Linked DNA regions of Homo sapiens: region 2 is linked to region 1. The links are contacts of gene promoters, found by promoter capture Hi-C in blood cells and fetal thymus (Javierre and others, 2016). All regions are on one chromosome and are shown on one strand. The core of a region is centred on a gene start or on the middle of the fragment in contact, and the rest is flanking DNA. Distances in the headings are between cores, read along the strand shown.

The links. The method cuts DNA at HindIII sites, captures the fragments that hold promoters and counts their contacts. A CHiCAGO score of 5 or more calls a contact.
Region 2: a contact is called between a fragment that was not itself captured here and the fragment with the promoter of CNOT6 in region 1, in 1 of 17 cell types (fetal thymus). The highest score is 6.3, in fetal thymus.

What each region holds. Positions count from the first base shown.
Region 1 is chr5:180,489,818-180,497,465 of GRCh38, reverse strand. CNOT6 (CCR4-NOT transcription complex subunit 6) reads right to left here and starts at 3,087. Exons shown (of 12, transcript NM_001370472.1): 1 at 2,703-3,087. RefSeq lists silencers at 2,318-2,577, 2,608-2,707, 2,878-3,017, 3,148-3,347. The HindIII fragment of the contact is 20,633 bases long and covers 1-7,648 here.
Region 2 is chr5:180,799,272-180,806,919 of GRCh38, reverse strand. It overlaps MGAT1 (alpha-1,3-mannosyl-glycoprotein 2-beta-N-acetylglucosaminyltransferase), which reads left to right and starts at 4,114. Exons shown (of 2, transcript NM_002406.4): 1 at 4,114-4,240. RefSeq lists enhancers at 1,975-2,680, 3,135-3,244, 3,388-4,094, 4,095-4,802 and silencers at 3,615-3,664, 3,675-3,754, 3,925-4,284. The HindIII fragment of the contact is 1,346 bases long and covers 3,469-4,814 here.

The sequences.
Region 1 (7,648 bases), core at 1,838-4,337:
ATTCCAATATGTCTTACATATATTATCCTTTTCTGTTGCACTATGAAAAAGGTTTATCATTTAAAGAATATAAGAAGGCAAATATAGGTACTGGAATGTCTAAGCATTCACCAAAATGCATACTTTTTTTTTTTTTTTTTGAGACGGAGTTTCACTCGTTGCCCAGGGTGAAGTGCAGTGGCGTGATCCTGGCTCACTGCAATCTCTGCCTCCCAGGTTCAAGCCATTCTCCCACCTCAGCCTACTGAATAGCTGGGATTACAGGCATGCGCCACCACACCTGGCTAATTTTGTATTTTTAGTAGAGACAGGGTTTCATCATATTGGCCAGGCTTGCCTCGAACTCCTGACCTCAGGTGATCCACCCATCTCGGCCTCCGAAAGTGCTGGGATTACAGGCGTGAGTCACCGCGCCTGGCATAAAATGCATACTTTTAAACTACATGTACAGTGGGCAAATTCCTACAACGCCTTTACACATTTGTAGTTAGGACCAAGTTCTATAAACCAACCTTATGTCTGCTCAAAAGTTTGAAATTTCCCAATAATTGTAGTTTTACTTTGCCAACAACATTTAAGCAACCTGAAAATACCTACAAATTGAACAGGCATTCAAGAGGAGCCGCTTGGGCTGCATCACCACTATCAAGACACTATGGAAATTACCTAATGATTGACTTTCAGAGAAAATCTTCAGTCTCACAAGAAAATCTGTCTTTCGTCACCGTTTTTATAAAGTGATCAAGACAAGGTCTCACTACGTTGTGACAGTTATCACAGACTTTATATATGTTACTTTATATTTTTCTGAGACAGGGTTTTGCTGGTCTCAAACACCTGGGCTCAAGCCATCCTCCTTCCTCAACCTCCCAAAGCGCTGGGATTACACGGTGAGCCACCATGCCTGGCAATTGCATCATCTTTTTTGATCATTTCGTTCAGCATCTCGTTCATCGACTGAGAAGTGACCTGAAATAACTTCCAACCATTAACATACCCTCCCTCCTCCCAAAAGAACAAACCTCTAGCGATTAGGTCGCACACTCATGCGCTCTCACACGCACACAAACCCGGTCCTTTCCCTCCTCATTACAGTACCATGGGCAAGTCACCTCCACCTAGAAAGGTCTGTCTTCTCATTAGCAGCTGTTCATGTATTTTGTTTAAAGCAAAACACCTGGAGTAGATCACAGATCTAAAGATATTAAGCAATTTTTATTCTAAATTTTACTCTAAAAGTCATCACATTCTAAACACTGTGATGGCCAGGCATGTTGGCTCATGCCTGTAATTGCAGCACTTTGGGAGGCCAAGGAAGGAAGATCGCTTGAGCCCTGGAGTCGGAGACCAGCCTGGGCAACAGAGCAAGGCTCTACAAAAAATTAAAAAATTAGCCGTGGTGGTGTCTGCCGGTAGTCCCAGCTAGTCAGGAGGGTGAGGCAAAAGGATCGCTTGAACCCAGGAGGCGAAGGCTGCAGTGAGCCGAGAACTGTGCCACTGCACTCCAGCCTGGGTGACAGAGTGAGATCCTGTCTCAAAAACAATAAATAAATTAAATAAAGACTGTGATAAATGTCTTAACAGCAATTCCCCAAAAAAGCCTTTAAACCCTTTTGATCAATGGCCCACGTCCACTCCTACAGCCTACTAATCTGTTCTAGAGTAGTAAATTCTAGTATATTGTAAAAAATACAAAGTGCTACTACACACCATTTTATTTTTCAGTTATTCATATTCACTCTCTTCCTCTTCAAAGTTAAATTCCCAGATACAAGTAGGCAAGAAGATTCAGCACTAACAATGAGACAATCCACCTGGAAAACAGGTAAGTATGGGAACTCAAATTGAAGCAGATTATCTAAAACACATCAGCTTACACAGTAACAACAAATCCAAAGAGCTCGAGCGAGATGACCATTCACAACGCTGTCAATGGCAACAACAGTTAAAAACAGAAGGCCACAGGTGTTGGTTAGCAGGCTCTTCGGGGAAGGTGAAGGAGGTAAAGAATCAAAGGAAGTTTCCAAAGAAAATAGCGATTAGTGCTGAAAAACAAAAAGGAGGGATGCAATTTGGGTTACCAGAGAAAACTGCTTGTAGAAACCAGTACAATCTCCGAATCCTTCGCAATACTATAAAATAAGCATCCTCATTGCATGCCAAGTGCTTCTTTAACCTGTAATCCACCCCGTCCTCTCCCTCAAAATCTGCGTTAAACTGAATTTTAAAAACATTTTAGGGGAGGGGGTAAGCAGTTGGTTTCCCGCTTGACAGTAATTGTGGCCACGGAGCGCGAAGCTCCACACTCCACACAGCGCGCCACCCACAGAGGCGCTTCTCAAAAGTTGCCACCCATCTTGGCCACGAGTCCCGGGACACGGACTCGCCTCCTCCGACGACGGCAGCCGGGACCGGCCGGGATCCGGGAGCCCAGCGCCGACCCTCTCCCCTCTGCGCGCCGCCGCCGCCGCCGTCAATCAACGCCCCCCTCCCAGGGACTCGGCCCGGGGGCGCGGCCCGGGGCGGGGCGCGATCGCGGCGCGTCGAAGGGGCCCCCAACAGCCGCCAGCTTGCGGAGCAGCGGGACCGCCGCCCACGAAACGAAAGTTGCCCGCGACCGAGCCCGGCCGACGGGGGGCGGTCCGTGCGCGGCCGGAGAGAGGAGCGGCGCCCCGACCGGGCCTCCGGCCTGCCTCGCTCACCTCTCGGGGTGCGCCGCCTTCCTCCGCCGCTGCCGCCTCCTCCTCCCTGTGAGTGCAGCGGGGTCTGCCCTGTGGAACCACCATACCAGTCCCGCCCGCTGCTGCAGCGCCGCCACCGCCGCCGCTCCTCTGCCGCCTTAGTCGCTGCTCTTTGTTCCCCCTCCGAGAGCCACTGCTTCGGCTGCCCGCCTCAGCCGCCCCGACGGGCCGCCACTACGCCCTCCCGCCCTCTCGGCCCCCGGCCTCGCCCTCCTCGCTGCGCCCGCCGCTGCCTTCGCCTCCGCGCCGCCGTCGCCGCCGCCACCGACGCCGCCGCCTCCTCCTCCGCGCCCCCCTCGTTTTCATTGAAAGCAAACAAGCATCATGGCGGCGGCCGCCGTCCCTCAGCCAGCGAGCGCCCGGACCGCCGCCGGCGCTCCAACATCCTGGCCGCTCATTGGGCGCCGTCGCCGGGCACAACCATCCGCCCTTCGGTGCGGGGGTCGCTCCCGGCACGCAGCTGCCCAGGCCCCGCCCCCTTACCCCCGCGCTGGAGAGCGGTGGACCGGCCCGGCGCGCTGCGGGCCCTGCCTCCCTGCCTGCCGCCCTCCATCCCTTCCTCTCCGTCCATCCTTCGTCTCCTTCTGTTCCCGCTCTCCTCGCTCCTTTCCTGCCTTGGCACTTCTGTTTTCTCCTCTCCTTAGCGCTCCTCCATTTTTCATCTACTTCTTTTTCCGCCCCAGGTTGTCCACTTTTTTTTTGTTTTTTGAGACGGTGTCTTGCTCTTTCACCCAGGCCAGAGTGCAGTGGGGCGATCTTGGCTCACTGCAAGCTCCGCCTCCCGGGTTCACACCATTCTCCTGCCTCAGCCTCCCGAGTAGCTGGGACTACAGGCGCCCGCCACCGCGCCCGGCTCATTTTTTGTATTTTTAGTAGAGACGGGGTTTCACCGTGTTAGCCAGGATGGTCTCCATCTCCTGACCTCGTGATCCGCCCACCTCCGCCTCCCAAAGTGCTGGGATGGCAGGCGTGAGCCACCGCGCCCGGCTGGGTTGTCCACTTTTATCTCCTCTTTTCCTTGATCGTCCTCCCCTTTTTTTCTCCTCTTCCTTTTCCTTAAGCCTTCGCCTGTCAATCACGTCGAAACACAGTATTTGACCGGAGCCAGTATCTTGATCTGCCTAAAGACAAGACATTCAATCGTGAACAGTCGAATATTATTCCTTCCTCAATTATACAAAGAAGAGTAAGTTAACATACCACTTCAGCCTATTAATGGTAATTCATTCCATTACATTAATGGACAGTTTTGGTGCTGGGGTCCTAGCCTGGGTAACGGACAGCAGCTGCTGTGCTCCAAGATCAAAAGGTGTTCAGGGCAAACTCTGGTGTTTGAAGGTCAGCAGAGAAATGACTGGGCTGATTCATGATGCTTACATCAAGAAATATTAGTTGACTGATGGTCAGGGCACAGAGATGAATCAGACCCCACCCAGCCCTGAGTAAGCTCACAGTCTAGGGGCAAGAATAACACCCAACAGACTTAATATTGGAGGTATATTGGTCGGGCGCGGTGGCTCACGCCTGTAATCCCAGCACTTTGGGAGGCCGAGGGGGGCAGATCACCTGAGGTCCGGAGTTGGAAAACAGCCTGACCAACATGGCGAAACTTCGTCCCTACTAAAAGTACAAAAAATTAGCCAGGTCTGGTGGCTTGCACCTGTAATCCCAGCTACTCGGGAGGCTGAGGCAGGCAGGAGAATCATTTGAACCTGGGAGGCGGAGGTTGTAGTAAGCGGAGATCGCACCATTGCACTCAGGCCTGGGCAGCAAGAGCGAAACCCTGTCTCAAAAAAAAAAAAAAAATTTGAGCTATATGTTGAAGGCGTGAAGGAAAAGGAAAGCTGCCTGCCCACCTATGTGGCAAACTAGGATAGGCTGCTAACTGCTTCCTGGAAAATCAACCCTGAAGAAATGAGAGTGAGACAGGTTCCAGGAACTAACAGTAGCAACAAACCGAGGCTTCTGCTTCAGTGAAGGCTGTTGAGAGCTGGGGATGTGGGAAATGGGTTGCTGTTGCCTGGGGTGGAGGAGACCTGGCTGGAAGGGCAAGGAAAGGATGAGGGACAAAAGCTGTTCAGAGGTGAAGATGATCCCCCTCTCCCCAGCACGGCCTTGGGATGGTCATCGCTTGGCACTGCCATGACATCAGGAGTGACAGCCCAGGCCTCTAGCGCCATAGGACACTGGGCAAAGACAGAGCAGTGCAGAAGTTTAGGAGTCAGGAAGAACACATGTAGACCAGTAAGCTGCCTGTGGCCATCCCTCCACAACCTCCTCCTGTACAGCAGGGAGTTGTGCGGCCCTGTGCTGTACAGAGTATCCCAGGCTGAGGGGCCAATGGGACAGACACCCTGCAGGGCCTCTCCTCCCTGTGTGAGTGCCCTGGCCGTCTGTGCTCCAGCCTGGGTGCCTTTTTGTAATTTGGCCAGAGGCAGCTACCTCAGCCCGGTGCGGGGACTCAACGCCTGTAATCCCAGCACTTTGGGAGGCCGAGGCGGGCAGATGACTTGAGGCCAGGAGTTCGAGACCAGCCTGGCCAACATGGCAAAACCCCGTCTCTACTAAAAATACAAAAAAAAAAAAAAAAATTAGCTGGGTGCAGTGGCGGGCACCTGTAATCCCAGCTACTTAGGAGGCTGAGGCATGAGAATCGCTTGAATCCAGGAGGCAGAGGTTGCAGTGAGCTAAGGTTGCGCCATGGCACTCCAGCCTGGGCAACAGAGCAAGACTGTCTCAAAAAAAAAAAAAAAAAAACTCAAACAAAACAAAACAAAAAACAGAGGGAGCAATTCCCTTGTGACTGGCACGACTGTATGGAGGAGGGGAGGTCTTGTTGCACAAAATCTTGGTAGCATAAAGCAACAGTTTTACTGTATCTCATGATTCTGATGTTCACCCTTGGGGCCTCATGCCTATACCAAAGGTGGCAGCTGGGTGTTGAATGTCTGGCACCTCGCTGCCCCCTAACGAGGCCTCCCCCGCAGTGTCTCATCCTTCAGCCTTTGTGTGTGGCCCCTTTCCCCAGCAGGAGGTGATCCTGCACTTCCTACATGACAACCAGGGGCTCCAAGAGGAAAGCGAAGCTGCCAGGCCTTCTGAAGAAGGCCACTTCCTCAATATTCTATGAATTAAAGCAGGCACAAGCCCAAGCCAGATTCAAGAGGAGAGGACATAAGCTGTGGAGGAGCTGCGCGTGCATGCAGGGCGGGGTGGACTAATTGGAGCCCTCTGGGGAGACTTGCTGCCACCAGGAGGGTACGATAGTGGCTCTGCTGTGCATGCCCTTTTCTTTCTGCATATCCGAGGAGAACCCCGCAAAATACCTACTCACCCTTTCAGGCCAGATCAAAGTGCCCCTCATGTTAGGCCAGACCTCCCATTGCAAGTTATAAAACTCACAACTCAATATTTCTTTGCAAGAAGGAGGGAATTGAATTGAAAGAGGGAATGCTGAACCATTCAGGCATTGTAAGGTGGCATCAAGAATCGATCTCACCTCCCACCCTCCATCCTGTTCTCTCTGCAGGCCTCACAAGCGGGAAAGATGCCACCAACACCTGCAGGCTTAGATTCTACCAGCTTCTCCGCTTAGAGAAGGTGCTTCTTTCCTAATGATTCCAGCCAAAGACCCAGGGCAGGCTCTCACTGGCCTGGCCTGGGCCTTGTTTCTACTGCAGTCAGGCAGTACCAAAGCAGGACCAGTCTGGGATTGATACGTGCTAAGCGAGGACAGCATGAATTGGTGGCAGCCAGTGCCATCTTCCCCACCACATGGAGAGATGAGACACTGGTGAAGATGTGGAGTCTCAGAGCAAGGGCCTGACAACTTGTTTCAGTAGTTTTTTCCTTTAGCTCGTGACCTATACCAGAACCTATTCCAGGTATACAAACCAATACTTTTTTTTTTTCGCTTAAGTTTGAGTTTGGCTTCTGTAGCTTACAACCAAAATAATTCTAATTTGACCAGTAAATGCGTTGCACAGAGGGATGCGTCACCAGAATAGGGTCATCATCCGATGTGCACAGCAAGTCAATGCGCCAAGACACCAGGCTGCAGCAGAGGAGGTTTGAATCCTAGGGCCACTGGATGTGGAGACAAGAAGAAACCAAATCTGCCTCCCTGATGAGTTTGGGGCTAGGATTTTCAAGGGTTTTGGAGTGGGCTGAAGAATGGAGATTGCTGGTTTGTCAAGGAGAGCAGGATGAAGCCGTGCTGATTCTCATGCTGATTGGTTCCTTTGGGCAAGGGTTGGGGGTCTTCAAACTGGTTGGCATCACCTGTTCGACTGGAGTTCAGGATCTGCTTGAGCACTTCTTTCATATTTATTTACTTATTTTTGTTTTTTTATTTTTTTCCCTGAGACAGAGTCTTGCTCTGTTGCCCAGGCTGGAGCACAGTGGCACAATCTCGGCTTGTTGCAAGCTCCACCTCCCAGATTCAAGCAATTCTCCTGCCTCAGTTTCCCGAGTAGCTGGGATTACAGAGGCACACCACCACACCCAGCTAATTTTTGTATTTTTAGTAGAGACGGGGTTTCACCACGTTGGCCAGGCTGGTCTTGAACTCCTGACCTCGTGATTTACCCGCCTCGGCCTCCCAAAATGCTGGGATTACAGGTGTGAGCCACTGTACCCGGCCTATATTTATTTATGTTACTGTATTTTTGAGACAGGTTCTCACTCTGTCACCCAGGCTGGAGTGCAGTGGCATGATCACGGCTCACTGCAGTCTCAACCTCCTTGGGCTCAGGTGATCCTCCCACCTCAGCCTCCGGAGAGGCTGGGACTGCAGGCATACACCACACCCCGTTAATTGTTGTTGTTGACATGGGGTTTCACCTTGTTGCCCAGGCTGGTCTCCAGCTCCTGCCCTCAAGCAATCTGCCCGCCTCGGCCTCCCAAAG
Region 2 (7,648 bases), core at 2,892-5,391, 310 kb before region 1:
CCCCAGCTTCACCCAGCAAATTTCTGTTGCCAGTCTTTGCTTAGACACAGGGGTCACAGTGATCCCTCGGGGATACGTGATGCCACGGTGCCTCCTCAGCCATCTCTGGTATCCCAGGTACCAGGGAGTTGCGTATTTGCGTAATGCTTCTATCACGTGATCCAGTCAATCTGTTTTGTCTGTTTTCCCTCACCACTTTGTTGTGAGGAGAACAGAGCAGGGATTCTTTTCCCAGTTTGAGGGGAAGCTACGGAAGCCCTGAGTGGGAAGGGTTTGCCTAAGGGTAGAGCGGTAGGCACTGAAATCACCTCCCAGTGCTGTGCTGTTTCCACAGCATCTGACCTGACCAGGCCATCTGGGTTCTGCTGCAAACCTCCAGGGAGAGAAGCTCTGTGCCCTGCCAGACAGCCTCTCTGGTAGAACGTTTCCTCCTTAGAGTGAGCAAGCATTCCTCTCCCTGACCTTCCCACCCTCCTGCCCTGCACCTGACCCTTCCATGAGACAGTCCCTTCAAGACAACCATTGGCTTTTTCACATGGGCACCAGGATGCCAAGGCATAGCACTCAGCAGGTGTCAGGCTACTTAGCCAGGAGCAGTGATAGACTTAACCAGACTGTGTGTGCATTTTTTTTTTGAGACAGAGTCTTGCTCTGTCGCCAGGCTGGAGTGCAGTGGTGCGATCTCGGCTCACTGAAACCTCCACCTCCTGGGTTCAAGCTATTCCCCTGCCTCAGCCTCCCAAGTAGCTGGGACTACAGGCACACGCCACCACGCCCGGCTAATTTTTTGTATTTTAGTAGAGATGAGGTTTCACCATGTTGGCCAGGATGGTCTCAATCTCCTGACCTTGTGATCTGTCTGCCTTAGCTTCCCAAAGTGCTGGGATTATAGGCATGAGCCACGGTGCCCGGCCGTGTGTGTATTTTAACTCAATTAATTATTTATATCCTTCTTTATTCCAAAAAGAATTGTAGGTGGCTAACCAAAAGTTACATTTCACAGACATTGTTTAGTGATTATTATGTTAATCTTTCCTCTTTGACCTGGATGAGATGAATTTCTGGGTCTCCATTGTGGGGTGAGGGAGAGGGGCAAGCAGAGATATTAGGAGGCAGGGAGAAGGGAAACAAAACACTGATTTAAAAAATTTGCTTTTACTTTTTTTTTTTGAGATGGAATCTCACTCTGTCACCCAGGCTGGAGTGCAGTGGCATGGTCTCTGCTCACTGCAACCTCCGCTTCCCAGGTTCAAGCAATTCTCCTGCCTCAGCCTCCCGAGTAGCTGGGACTACAGGTGCATGCCACCACACTTGGCTAATTTTTGTATTTTTAGTAGAGACGATGTTTCACTATGTTGGCCAGGCTGGTCTCAAACTCCTGACCTCGTGATCCGCCTGCGTTGGTCTCCTAAAGTGCTGGGATTACAGGCGTGAGCCACTGCGCCCAGCCTGCTTTTACTTTTACTGATGTTTTCAAGCCAACATATGTTTTAATTTAAGGGCATGAATTCTTTCCAAATTGTAAAAAGTGTCAGGGATCTTGGGCATGGTTTATGGGAGGGCAGTTTCCTGGAACAGTTTTCACTTCCTTTTCATCTTTTCAGTTCTCTTTTGTCAGTGGTGGAGTGGGCAGGGGAGAGTATTGTTCCTCTGCCTAATCTTGTGACTGTTTATCCTCCTGGATAATCTGGTCTAATCTTGTGACTGTTTATCCTCCTGTTTTTTCCTTTTGCACATAATCCAATCCCAGGCCCACCCCCAGAATCCTGGCCCCTTGTTTCTATCCTTCTTACTCCAGTCACTGCTCCCCATGTAACCTCTATCAAGAGCTCAGAGCCTCTTTTCCCCAGGTCAGTTTGGCACTCATTTACCCTGGTTTCTTGCCTCTCAGACCAAGTGCTTGCTTTTGCCTCCATGAAGCCCATTCTGATTCCCTAACCAGGCCCTTTCTTTTTGGGATGGTCTCTTGCAGTCCGGGAATTTCTCCTTTTGGATCTTCCTGTGAGCCTTGGGATTTCAGCCAAGGGTGGTAGAGATGGGGTGTGCGTTACAGTGCACGAACAGCCGCCATCCTGTTTCCCCTTCACCTGCCTTAGATGGAGAAGTATCAGGGTCAGTGGTGGGAATCTGATCTTCCCCCACCTTTCAGCACCCCCTGATGTCTGTCCTTTCTCCTGGAAGGTGATTTTGGCTCCTCATGTCTTGGATCTACAAACCAGTGTTTCCCAGCCTTTTCACTTTTAGGAAACACAATTGTTTTTTCCTTTACGCCTTGACACCTAGTGTGAGTGTGCAGAGCCCCCAGGCCCCTGACTCCTCCATTAGGCAAACATAGGGCAGAGGTGACAGACACTGGCCTCTGACTGGCATATCCGCCTGGGTTCGAGGCTCCTGCCACAGTGCGCGCAGTCAGCTAAAGTGGAAGCCACGGGCTTCCCGCACATCGCACACTGCACACGGCGGCCTCGGTGGGCCTGCCCTTCTCCCACTCCACCTCCAGGTCTGGGCTCTGGCCACTTAAGCGGAGGCTTCACGGCAGCGCCTGAGAGGAGACAGAGCCCTCTCAAAGCACTGGCGCTGGAGGATGTGTGCGGGGGTGTTGGGGGGCGCACAGGAGTGCCCGGTCTAAAACCTGGCTATGCTCCCCACCAGGTCTGGTGGCTTGCAGCACGTTTGCACTTACCCTGAGCCTCAAACTAGTTATCTGTAGAATGGGGATGATAACGCTCACTCCGCAGAGCTGCTGAGGCTTGAAGGACAGGCCGAGGGAGGGTTTGGCCCGTGAGGCCCCTCACCATGCCTGGTGACCCCTTAGCAGTTTTGATTTAGGTCCTCGCCTCCACGCAGGGGCCTGCGGGTGCGCGCGGCCCTTTGTTTCTCTAGAACCCTGCACGATTCGTGGTTTCATGTAGAAACAAGTTAGTGAGCAGTCAGTCAGTAACCACAGGCCGCAGAGTTCCGGGCTGCTCCGTGCTCTGGAACACGGGGGAGGGGTTGATGTCAGGGGCGTGGGTCCTGATCACATGGCAGCAGCCCTTCTTGGGGAAGTCAGCTACCCAGCAGCCTGTAGTCCTCGGCTACCCACCCTCACCGCCTGGGGTCCCATGGTGAGACAGCTGGGTGGGCATCAGGCTTCTGCAGAGGGCCAGGCCGGAGGGAGCTGGGCGAGGGAGTGGGGCTGGCTCCTGGCTTGCACCGGCCTCGTGGAATCCAGGCCTCAGACCTGATCGCTGGCGAAACTGGCTCTGTGCGCTGGAGCCCCTGGTCTTCTGCGTCTGTCCTCCTCCCGGCCAGACTTTACTCCTGGCTCAGCGACAGGTATTTGCTATGGAAGAGCTGTCCCTCCCTCCCCTCGGTGGGCCTGGGTCCACCTCCACCTCCTCTTCAGGTCCGCACCTTCCTCCCCTTTAAAACACCAGCCGGGCGCAGACCCGTTCTAGGCTTTTCCATGGTGCTTCCGCCAAAGCTTGTGACCGAGTCCTTCCCGCCTAGGGCTGGTGGGCCTCCCCTGCTGGTAGGTCTCTCTTCGCTTTCTTTACTCAGAACTGAAGCTCTCATTCCCCACCCACCAAGGAAAAACAAAAGGGAAGAAGCCACAGCTGGCCCCGGCTTGCTTTGGCACAGGTGTTTCCCCCCGGCCCCCCGTCGGGCACCCTGGTTCCTGTTCTGTCCCTGCCCCACGCGACCCTGGGGCTCCCACCCGGGCTCCTCAGCCTCCCCTGGGTTGGGGTGGGGGGACTGGCTCCCAGCCCTTGGCCTAGGGTTTGGTGAACGCCTTTCCTGGACTGCGGGCCCACTTCAGGCGCGGCTCCAGGCTGGGCAGCTGCGCTGGAGGGCCGAGGGCAGGGGTGGGGTCGGGCGTCCACCCTCAGGGTTGCGCCAGGGAGCCGGAAAGCCGACTCCCGAAGTTGGGGTCCTGGGAAAACTTGGGTCCTGGGTTGACTGAGAAGCGGCGGGGAAAGGAGGCGGGCCAGGAGGAGGGGGCCTGGCGGACGCCGGCCGGGGGGCGGGGCGCGGCGGGGCTGTCGGTCACGCCCCTCAGTCCGCCCCGCCCCGCCCCGCCTGCCGGGGAAGGGCCACGTTGCCCGCCCGGCCGTCCGGCCCCGGCGCGCCGCAGAAAGGGCTGGCGAGTCGAAAGGCGAGGCGGCCGCGGCAGCGCTTGGGACGCGCCTGGGCACCGGGCTCGCTCCCTGCGCCCCGGAGCAGGCCAAGTTCGGGGCCAGGACGTCGGGAGGACCTGGTGAGTAGGTGTCCGGGGACGGAGGTCAGACCGGGGGAGGCCTCGCGGGCGCCGAGAGGGAGCCCAAGGGACGTCGGGTCGCCCCAAAGCCCCGGTGCCCATGAGTGCTAGCGAGAGGGGGCTTGGCTGGGGAGCGGCCCGGTCCGACCCGGTGCCAGCTGCGCGTTAGTCCCTTCCCGAGCCGAGAGGTTGGAACTCCGCCTTCTGCTTTCGGAATCCCGGGCCTCCAGCTGTTAGAGGAAGGGCGGGCTCCGCGGACTGGGGAGGATGTTGTGAAACTCGGCCCCGGGCGTCCGTGCGTGCGGGGCAGGGAGGGGGTGGGATTGGGGAGTGGCCTTTCCCCCCTAACCTCACTCCAGCATCCTTTCCCCAAGTTAATAGAGGCTGATTCTCCTCAGCAGAAAGGAAATGTTGATTCAGTGTTGAAATATATATATAATAAGTTGGCAAGAAAACTTTTCTTCCTGTTTGCTAACGTGTGTGGAGTAGAGAGCCCCGGGACGTGCAGTGCCCGCGTCTGATAAACTCTGAAGTAGAGGGACTGTGGCTGGCCGGCTCCCTGAAGGCTGAAGCTTCACTTTGGTTAACCCTTGCTGCTGTAGTGGGTCTGCCGTTTTGTTTTAGAACATCACTGGCTGAGATGTTGCCCAGCTTTATTTTCAGTCATTTACGGTATTTTTTCAGGCCGTGTAGCCTTTGCTCTTACGTGCTCACATCATCCAGGATCTGCCTTCCATCAGCAATCACTGCGTCCTGGTCCTTCCCAATTCTGGGGACCATTGAGCTCACCCATTTCCCTGCTTCTGTGTCTCATTCTCACTGTTAGAAGCACTGCGGTATGCCTGACCTCAGTGGCCTGTGTTAACAAGGGAAACTCATTACTGTTCGGGGCAGTAGGGAAATTGTCACTGTCGTCAGTATCCAGGCAGTGGGACCTTGTGATGAACCAAATCAACCCTGTCACCTTATAGATGAGAGAACTAAGGTACAAGTGGGTCAAGTGACTTGTCCAAAGTTGCCTGGCTTGCTGGCTGGATCGCCTGAATCCCAGGCCTCATGCCTTTTGTGGCACTTGTATTTAGCTCTTCTTTTCCAGGATGAATAACCTGCATCCCTTCCCTCCTAGGTCTTATTCTCTCAACTCTTGAATTATTTAGTGTATCTTCTCTGACTACCTTTCTTTTTTTTCCGTCCTGAAATTATGGGCCTGGTACATGATACAGGAGTCCAGCCAAGGTCTAAGAACGAACATGAAAGCAGTTCAGTTAGAGTTCCATTACCTGTGACATGTCTATATTTTCTGGAATTTTTACGTAGTGCTTTTTAACTTTAAGCAAAGCAGAGATAGAAGGGAAAATCTGTTACCATTTCTTCCACTTCTGTACTTAATTTTACAGCTAAATATAACTTCTCGCTTATTGCTCATGATTGGAAGTTGACTATCTGGTGTTCACTTGCTATTTAAGAAACATTTTTTGCCAGATAAAGGAAATAGGCTGGAGAACACCATGGTATCAGAGTGTTAGAAAGGATCTCACAGCTCCTAGGCAGTCCTTCAAATGCTTCAGAAACTGAGTGAGCCCCATAGGGGCAGGTGGCGCCTACCCAGAGCCACCTCGGTTTTAGCTGAAGGGTTTTGTACTGAAAAGACTCACTTCTCATCTCCCACCATGGTGCAGATGTCTTTGTACCTGGTGGTGTGGATTGGCTGTGTCACCTCCCTAAAGGAGTTGTGAAAACTCTAGAAAGTCAAAGCCAGTTTTGAGTCTGTGCCTTGCATGCCAGTCTCATAAATGACATCATTAGGAACTCAGGTCAGGATTAAGGGCAGTTGTTCTATTTAAAAAGGAAGGTGTAGCAGATTGTATTTTCCCTCAAGGGCCTCACCCGTAAGTATCCCCTTCCACATGTAGTTATAGTTTGACATTGTCCACTTCCCACCTAGTGGTGGGGTTTATGATTCTCTCCCCTTGCATGTCAATAGGGACTTGTGGTTCCCTTGACCAGTGAGTAAGACAGACCTGATCCAAGGCTGAATCAGGAACAGGATACACTTTCACCTGGCTTGCCCGCTTTCTTGGAACACTCACCTTTGGAATGCAGCCACCACTTCCAGGACATTTCCAGGCCACATAGAGGGGTTCTAGTGAGCACTCCTGCTGATAAGGTCTCAGCTGCTGCCAACATCATCCTACAGACATGTGAGAGAATGTGAGAGCCTCTAGGGGCATCTGGCCCTCAGCTTTTGAGTCTTTCAGCAAGGCCTCAGGCATAGTGGAGCAGAGACACGTCATCTCCTCTGTGCTGCACTGTCCACATTTCTGACCAATAGAAACTGTGAGGAGTAAGTGATAACTATTGTTTTAAGCCACTAAATATCGAGGTAATTTATTATGCAGGAGTAGATACCTACTAAGGAAGGAGACATGAGTGGAGACAGGGCCTCAGTGTTTGGACTTGGAGCTGAGCACAGAGGGCAGGGAGGGCACTTGCCCTGCTTGTCAAGATTATCTAGAGTCTGTTTCTCTCATTGCTTCAGGTACTGATGGCTGCATAATGAGTCACCCCAGAACTTAGTGGCTTACAACAACAGAATCATTTTATTAACATCTCAGCTATGTGGTTCTTGCTTGTGGTCTTTCACGCCATTGCAGTCAGCTGGGGCTGGGATAATCTGGAGGGCTGTCTCCTGTGTCTAGCGGTTGATGCTGGCTGTCAGCTGGGACCTTAGCTGGGGTGGTCAGTTGGAATACCTATGGGGGTCCTGTCCATGTAGCAGTGTCCTGTCCATATAGCAGGGTCCTAGGAGTCAGCATCTTAAGAGGACCAGGTGGAAACTACTGCCTTTTATGAGTTAGTCTCACAAGTCACATAGCATCTCTTCCCAGAACCAAAGGGAGGGAACATAGACCCTCAGCTCTGGAGGCAGGAGTGTCTTTATCACTTGTAAGAAGAGCATATGGAATGGGATATGTGCGGTCATCTCTGGAAAATGTCACACTTCACTCTCTTGCTGCTGCGTTGGCCATCTTTCTCCCTGATTTCGGTAATAGTGCAAGCAGTCTTCCATCCAGCCACTTGAACCTCATACATGTGCCAAGCACTGTGGTGGGCACAGAGGTCATAGAGTCTTTTTTCCTAAGGAGGAAGGTGGGAGTCAGGTCAGCGTGGCCACAGATTCTGTTACAGCGTGGAGAGAGTGCTGTGGGAGTGTAGTCATAGGGAGGCCTGGCTCTGTCTGTGATGTTACAGAAGGAGTCACCTGAAGTGGCCTGAAAGGATGTGTGGGTGGCTGGCAGGTGGCGCTGTGGGTCAAATTCCAGGATGAGGGACCAGCTGGAGCAGAGACACAGCAGCGTCCAGGTATATGCTTACTGGGGAAAAAGCAGCCTGCTGAGGCCAGAGTGC